Linked DNA regions of Homo sapiens: region 2 is linked to region 1. Evidence: promoter capture Hi-C in human tissues and cell types (Jung and others, 2019). All regions are on one chromosome and are shown on one strand. The core of a region is centred on a gene start or on the middle of the fragment in contact, and the rest is flanking DNA. Distances in the headings are between cores, read along the strand shown.

What was found. Contacts are between HindIII fragments. The study calls those that stand out against the background at their distance.
Region 2: a contact is called between a fragment that was not itself captured here and the fragment with the promoter of PGLYRP1 in region 1, in 1 of the 25 tissues and cell types used here (aorta).

The regions. Positions count from the first base shown.
Region 1 is chr19:46,021,381-46,025,050 of GRCh38, forward strand. PGLYRP1 (peptidoglycan recognition protein 1) reads right to left here and starts at 1,673. Exons shown (of 3, transcript NM_005091.3): 1 at 1,355-1,673. The coding sequence starts at 1,641. RefSeq lists an enhancer at 281-1,166. The HindIII fragment of the contact is 20,258 bases long and covers 1-3,670 here.
Region 2 is chr19:46,429,601-46,433,270 of GRCh38, forward strand. No RefSeq gene overlaps it. Among named protein-coding and RNA genes, the nearest start is that of PNMA8C, 2.5 kb to the left of the region's middle. The HindIII fragment of the contact is 8,299 bases long and covers 1-3,670 here.

The sequences.
Region 1 (3,670 bases), core at 423-2,922:
TGTGAGACACAGCCTTAGGAGGTCCTGAGAACATGTGTCCCCTGGGTGGGGTCTATTGAAGTGGTCTCTGGGGACCTGCATGTTCCTCCAATAAGCTCTGCAGGAGATTCTGATGCTTACCTGGGTCTGAGAGCCTGCAGGATTGAAAGTTCCCTCCCTGTGGAAACCGTCAGGCTGGACTGCAGCCCATTCTAAGGAGGAGGTAGCTGGTAGGCGTGGCCCCGGACCTGCTTCAGCCTGCTTCAGCCGGCACCCCTTACAGTCTGTTCTCCCCACAGCAGCCAGAGGGAGTCTCTTGTACCTACACTAGCCCTGGTCCCTGCTCTGCGGGGGGAAGCCTCCCATGGCTCCCATCTCGGAGTAAAAGCTACAGTCCTCACTGTGGTCCACAAAGCCCTGCCTGGTCCTGCCCTTTCCTCATTTCATTCCGCTCGCCCGGCTGTGTTCAGCCACCCTGTCCTTCCCACAGGACCCGCCCACTCAACCCCGTTGGCTTTGCCCCCAGCACCCCCTGCCACCTGCAGGCCTCTGTCTGCTCCCCCATCCCAGAGCCAAGGCAGCCACTCTCAGGGAGGCTTTCCCTTGCCCCACCCTTCCAAGGAGCCTGTGTGGGTCTGGTCCCAGCCTGAGGTCACCCTCCCTCACCTCTTTCCTTTTATCCATCGCCTCTATCACCGTCTGAATTCACCTGTGGCCTTGGCTTGTTTCTCCCTGCTGGTCTTTCAACCCCAGGAGGCTAGAGTGGCACCGTTCTCCATGCCACATCTGGCACACTGCCTGGCACATAGTAGGTGCCTAATGGTAATAGCCCGTGGCTTTGCGGGCCCCCGTGTGCCAGGCAGTTCCTAGGTGCTTTGCCTGTATTGGCTCATATAAGGAGCAGATGGGCCGCGATTCCATTGACTTTGCCGAGGAGGAAGCTGAAGCCGGGAGGACCCGCCCCAGGCCTCAGCCAGCAATAAGATGAGCTGACCCTGGAACCCAGCTCCGCACTGAGTCAGCCTGGTTTTCCGCCTCCTAACAAAGGCACCAGGCATCAGGAAGGGGCGCCTTCATAAGGCGTCGCGGACACCTTGGTGTGTGTTAGGCAAAGCCTGCCCCTTCTTCCCGGGAGCGGGAGCGGGGCTTGGATTTCAGCCCATCCCCCCTTCTCACGCATCTTTGTGCTGTGAGCACCTGCCCCGGCCCACGTGGTGACCCGAGGAAGAAATGACCTTGTGAGGTTCAGTAAGCTGCTCAGGGTGTCAGCCAGGTGGCCTCAGCACCAGGCCTAGAAATGGTCCCGCTGGCGGGCACTTGCACACCTTTGCCTCTGGGATCCCCAGTCCAGCCCGTGCCCCCCTGCCACACTCACTTGTAGCCCACGTCGCACCAGCCCAGTGTCTTCATGTGGTAGTGCTGCACATTCCGGGCCTGCTGCTGGCACGAGGCGGGGGTGTTGCAGCTGCTGCCCGCCGTGTGCGATACCACCACATAGCGTAAGGGCAGGCTCAGGTGCTGGGCGCACTCTGATGCCAGGGCCTTCCACTCGTTCCGGGGCACTATGGGGCTGCAGCAGGCCGGGTCTTCTGTCTCCTGAGCCGCTCCGAGTCGAAGGAGGCTGGGGAGAGCCCAGGCAAGCAGCATAGAGCGGCGGGACATAGTGGCAGGGCGGCAGGGTCCGGGAGACCGCTAGGAGCGCCCGGTGGAGGGGCCGCCTTTATCTGCTGGGGGATTCCAGGAGTGGCCCGGAAAGTCTTGCTTCACACCCTGCTGGGACTTCCTGCTGGCCCAGCAGACCCCAGACTCAGCTTCCTTCTCTGGCTGGGCCAGGGCGGGATGCACTGTGGTTGGGGTCTGGGTCACGCCCACGGCAATGACAGGCCCCCTCGCTCAGCAGGGAGGGACGCACAGGCCCCTGGGCGCTTCGCCCCGCCGTTTCTGGAAGACCCGGGGCCGGGATCCCGGTCCTGCTTGTCTCTCCTCTCAGTGGAACATTGAACAACTCAACAGGAACTTACATCGCAGAGGCCCGGGGCATTGGCACATCTTCTCCCCGCAAGGACTGAGGTAACAAAGCTACCCATTTTAAAAACACTTCCTTCCCCCAGGTCCAAGCCTGATGCCATTTACGCTTGCAGCAAACTCAAGAGGTGAGTATCTGGAAGTCCATTTCACAGTGGAGTAAACTGAGGTTGAGAGCAGGGAAGTCACGGGCTGAGACACCGGAGGCACTGGAGCCCCGCGTCTAGAGCCAGGCTGCCTGCATGTGAATCCTGGATATGCAGTGTGTGAGAGCCTGCAAGTGGTTTTTAAAAATGTGTATTTAAAATTTTTTTTTTAATTTTCTATTTTATAAATAATATTTTCCTTTTTTTTTTTTTTTTTTTTTGAGATGGAGTTTTGCTCTTGTCACCCAGGCTGGAGTGCAATGGTGCGATCTTGGGCCACTGCAACCTCCGCCTCCTGGCTTCAAGTGATTCTCCTGCCTCAGCCTCCTGAGTAGCTGGGATTACAAGTGCACACCACCACGCCCAGCTAATTTTTATATTTTTGGTAGAGACGGGGTTTTGCCATGTTGGCCTGGCTGGTGTCGAACTCCTGACCTCAGGTGAGCCACCTGCCAGTGTTCCAGAGTGCTGGGATTACTATAGGCATGAGCCACCGTGCCTGACCTGTGTGGTGTGTTTTCATCTTCTGTGTTCTGCCTTCTCATATACATTGTACTCATGCTGTTACTGAATTGTGCACCAGGCATCTGTAGCACTTTTCAGAAATTATCATATACTCAACGACAAGCTTGCCAGATCCATGTTATTATTAACCCCTCTTACAGTTGACGGAACTGAGGCCCGGGGGGATGATCACATACAGGAGGTGATGAAGCCAGGGTTTGGCTACAGGCTTTCTGCCTGCAGAGTTATAAACCGTATTCTCCTCCCTACAAACTTATATAAGGACATTAAAAAAAAAAATCAAAACCATGTGCATCAATTTACCTTTTGTCACCTAATATTTCATGGGCATCTCACCAGGGCAGTACATCTAATTCTAATTTATTCTTTATAATAGTTGCACAATATGCTATAGTATCAGTTCAGCATTGTGGATCTTTTAGTTTTTGAAGGTTTTCCAGTATTTTCTCCACACTACGCAAAATATTTTCAGACATATATCCCTATGCACTGGTGCATTTATAAGTAAATTATAAACACAGAGTTATTAGGTCAATGAGTATACATATTTAATTAATATTACCAGATCATTTTCCCCAAAAAGCCATTAATAATTCATATTTTTCACCAGTAATGTTTTGGAGCCTCCTCACCCCGACCCCAGAAGTGGGTGTTATCACTTTTTTTTTTTTTTTTTTGAGTCAGAGTCTCGCTCTGTCACTCAGGCTGGAATGCAGTGGCACGATCTTGTCTCACTGTAAACCTCCACCTCCTGGGTTCAAGCCATTCTCCTGCCTCAGCCTCCCAGGTAGCTGGGATTACAGGCATGTGCCACCACACCTGGCTAATTTTTGTATTTGTAGTAGAGATGGGGTTTCGCCATGTTGGCCAAGCTGATCTCGAACTCCTGAGCTCAGGTGATCCACCCACCTCAGCCTCCCAAAGTGCTGGGATTACAGGCATGAGCCACCTTGCCTGGCCAGTGTTATCACTTCTTAAATTTATAAGTATAAAGT
Region 2 (3,670 bases), core at 448-2,947, 410 kb after region 1:
TAGAGTGCAGTGGCCCGATCTTGGCTCATTGCAACCTCTGCCTCCCCAGTTCAAGCGATTCTCCTGCCTCAGCTTCCCAAGTAGCTGGGATTACAGGCATGTGCCACCAAGCTCAGCTAATTTTTGTATTTTTAGTAGAGATGTAGTTTCACCATGTCGGCCAGGCTGGTCTTGAACTCCCAACCTCAGGTGATCCATCCACTTCGGCCTCCCAAAATGCTAGGATTACAGGCCACAGCCATTGCACCTGGCCGCGAAAACATTCTTTATACTATATTTGCAACTCTTCTGTAGGTTTATGGTTGTTTCAAATAAATGTTTAAAAATAAATAAGAAATGTCTCCCCCATGTGATGACATCCACAATGTCTATTCCTCTCCTCCCCAGTCCCCATTAATAAAGCCAAAACATTTGGGTTAGGTCGACACCCTTTATACCCCCAGTTCCAGGGATAAGCCCTGATTGGCTTGAACCAATTAGCATAATCTCACCCTCCTTCCCACAGTGATTGGTTCAGAAATGGTCACCCAGGTAACCTGGACAAAAAGCAATTAGTGCTTAATATGCCCCTCTTCTCTGAGATTGGTTAAAGGTTAGACACGTGAACTCAGTAAGTCCAGTCAGAATGAAGGTAAGGATTTCTGCAACTGGTAAGCGGAGGAAGACTCTCTCTTTCCTCCTAGACGTGAAAGACTAAGTATAGGAGCTACAGGAGGCTGTCTTGGAAGCATGACAAACTCTCTTCCTTCCTTCCTTCCTTCCTTCCTTCCTTCCTTCCTTCCTTCCTTCTTTTTTCTTTCTTTCCTTCTTTCTTTCAGACAGAGTCTTGCTCTGTCGCCCAGGCTGGAGTGCAGTGGCGCGATCTCGACTCACTGCAACCTCAACCTCTCAGGTTCAAGCAATTCTCCTGCCCCAGCCTGTAAAACAGCTGAGATTACAGGCGCCCGCCACCACGCCCGGCTAACTTTTTGTGTTTTTAGTAGAGACAGGGTTTCACCATGTTGTCCAGGCTGGTCTCAAACTCCTGACCTCAAGTGATCCACCTGCCCCGGCCTCCCAAAGTGCTGGGCTTACAGGCATGAACCACCGCGTCCAGCCAATAAACACTTTGAGGATGAACTTTGCATCTAGAGGAAGGCAGAGTTGAGGGAACAACCAGAAACCAGGCCATAGTCAGGAAGACATCATATGCCTCAGGATCAAACAACACCTGAAACCGACATCCCCTGAAACTTTGTTTTTACACGTAGTCAGAAGTGCACGAATTATAAATGAAAATCCATTAACTGAACACATGGTGTAACCAGCACCCAAATCAGTAAATGAACATCATAGCATTCCCAGAGGATATCCTGTGCTTTCTCCAAATCACTATATCCTCTTAAGGGAAGCCACTATCTTGACTTTCAACAGCATAGGTTAGTTTTGCCTGTTTTTGTATTTTACATAAATGGAATCACATATTACGTGGTCTATGTTTCTTGGTGAACATATATGTACATATCCATTAGTTTTAAGCCTGAACAAATGCCTTAGCAGATTCTACAAGTTTCCCAAACTGGTCGTACCATTTTATTCTCCCACCAAACAGTGTAAAAAAAAAAAATCCAGTTTCGCCACATGCTCATCAATACTAGATTTTTTTTTTTCCTGAGATGGAGTTTTGCTCTTGTTGCCCAGGCTAGAGTACAATGGCACGATCTCGGCTCACTGCAAGCTCCGCCTCCCGGGTTCACGCCATTCTTCTGCCTCAGCCTCCCGAGTAGCTGGGACTACAGGCGCCCACCACTAGGCCCGGCTAATTTTTTTGTATTTTTAGTAGAGACGGGGTTTTACCGTGTTAGCCAGGATGGTCTCGATCTCCTGACCTCGTGATCTGCACGTCTTGGCCTCTCAAAGTGCTGGGATTACAGGCGTGAGCCACCGCGCCCGGCCTGATGCCTCCGGTTTTATAGTCAGGAAAACCGAAGATCAGAGAGGTTAATTCACTTACCTAAGGTCACACAGCTAGTGAATGGCAAAGCTAGACTTCCCGCCTCAGCACCCTGACTCCTGGGCGCACAGATTTAACATTATACAATACCATGGAGTTCCCTGAGAAAGGGGTCCCATATTGTGTCACGCGGCTTAGTTCCTGTTCTGTCGTGAAGTTTCTGGATGACAGTTCCCTCTCTGGGCTGTATGTTGATTTTGTTCAGTGCCAGTTTAGCTAAGCTGGGCTTGTGTGTCCTAGAATAGCTTTCTGCAGGTGGCTGTTGGTTAGAGTCGTCTAAAAGAGAAATGTGCATTAGATTTACACAGCGGCTGGTGCTGTGAGAAGGTCTGCACAGGGTGCCACATGGCTCATGCATTTCATGACTGGTCTGTGGGCTCACCTTATTGGCTTGGGGCAGCCTCTGGGACTCCACCTGCTCCTGCCGGTCTCCTTTTCAGCGTCGGTGAACTTGGGGCCAGCACCGGAGCAGCTCTGTGGGGGCAAAAGGCACCAGCTTCCCCTGCAGGTCAAGCGTGGAATTGAGGTTGAAGGTGGGAAAAGAGACGTTGGTTGGGGGCGGGGGTTCCAGTTTGTCTTCAAGGATTCTAATTTTTTTTTTTTTTTTTTTTTTTTTTTGAGACGGAATCTCGCTCTGTTGCTCAGGCTGGAATGCAATGGTGCCATCTCTGCTCACTGCAACCTCCACCTCCCGGGTTCAAGCGATTCTCCGGCCTCAGCCTCCTGAGTAGCTGGGATTACAGGCACCCGCCATCATGCCCAGCTAATTTTTGTATTTTCATAGAGATGGGGTTTCACCATGTTGGCCAGGCTGGTCTCGAACTCCTGACTTCAAATGATCCGCCTGCCTCAATCTCCAAAAATGCTGGGATTGCAGGAGTGAGCCACCGCACCTGGCCTAGATTGTTCTTGTAGGTTCCAATTTGTCCTCTCTGTCCCGGTTCAGTTTCTAAATTGCCCAGCAGACTGGCCTACAGAGACTTAAAACCCAATACTAGTCACAGAAAAAAAAACTTTGATACACCCCTCCTCCAGCAACCCTAGCGCTCCCTGGTTAGTAATTTTTTTTTTTTTTTTTTTTTTTTGGAGATAAGGGTCTCTCTATGTTGCCCAGGCTGGTATCAAACTCCTGAGTTCAAGTGATTCTCCCACCTCGGCCTCCCAAAGTGTTGGGATTACAGGCCTGAGCCACCACGCCCAGCCTCAGTAACTTTTAAACAAGATCTCGCCATCCCTATATTATTATTATTATTTTGCCATCACGAATATAGTTTATTTTTAAATTTTTAATTTTTAATTGTGCGGGTACATGGTAGCTGTATATATGTATGGGGTTCACAAGATATTTGATACAGGCATGCAATGAGAAATAATCACATTGTGGAGAATGAAGTCGCCATCCCCTTAAGAACTTATCCTTTGTGTGACAAACAATCCAATTACATTCATTTAGCTATTTTGAAATGTACTATTATTATTAACAATAGTCATCCTGTTGTGCTATCAAATAGTATGTCTTATTCATTCTTTCTATTTGTGTTGAGTATTGTACCCATTAACCATCCCCACCTCCCCCATCCATCCCGCCGACGACCCTTCCCAGCCTCTGGTAACCTTCTGTCTATATGTTAAAAAAAAAAAAAAAACTGCTTTTTTTGTTTTGTTTTGTTTCGAGAT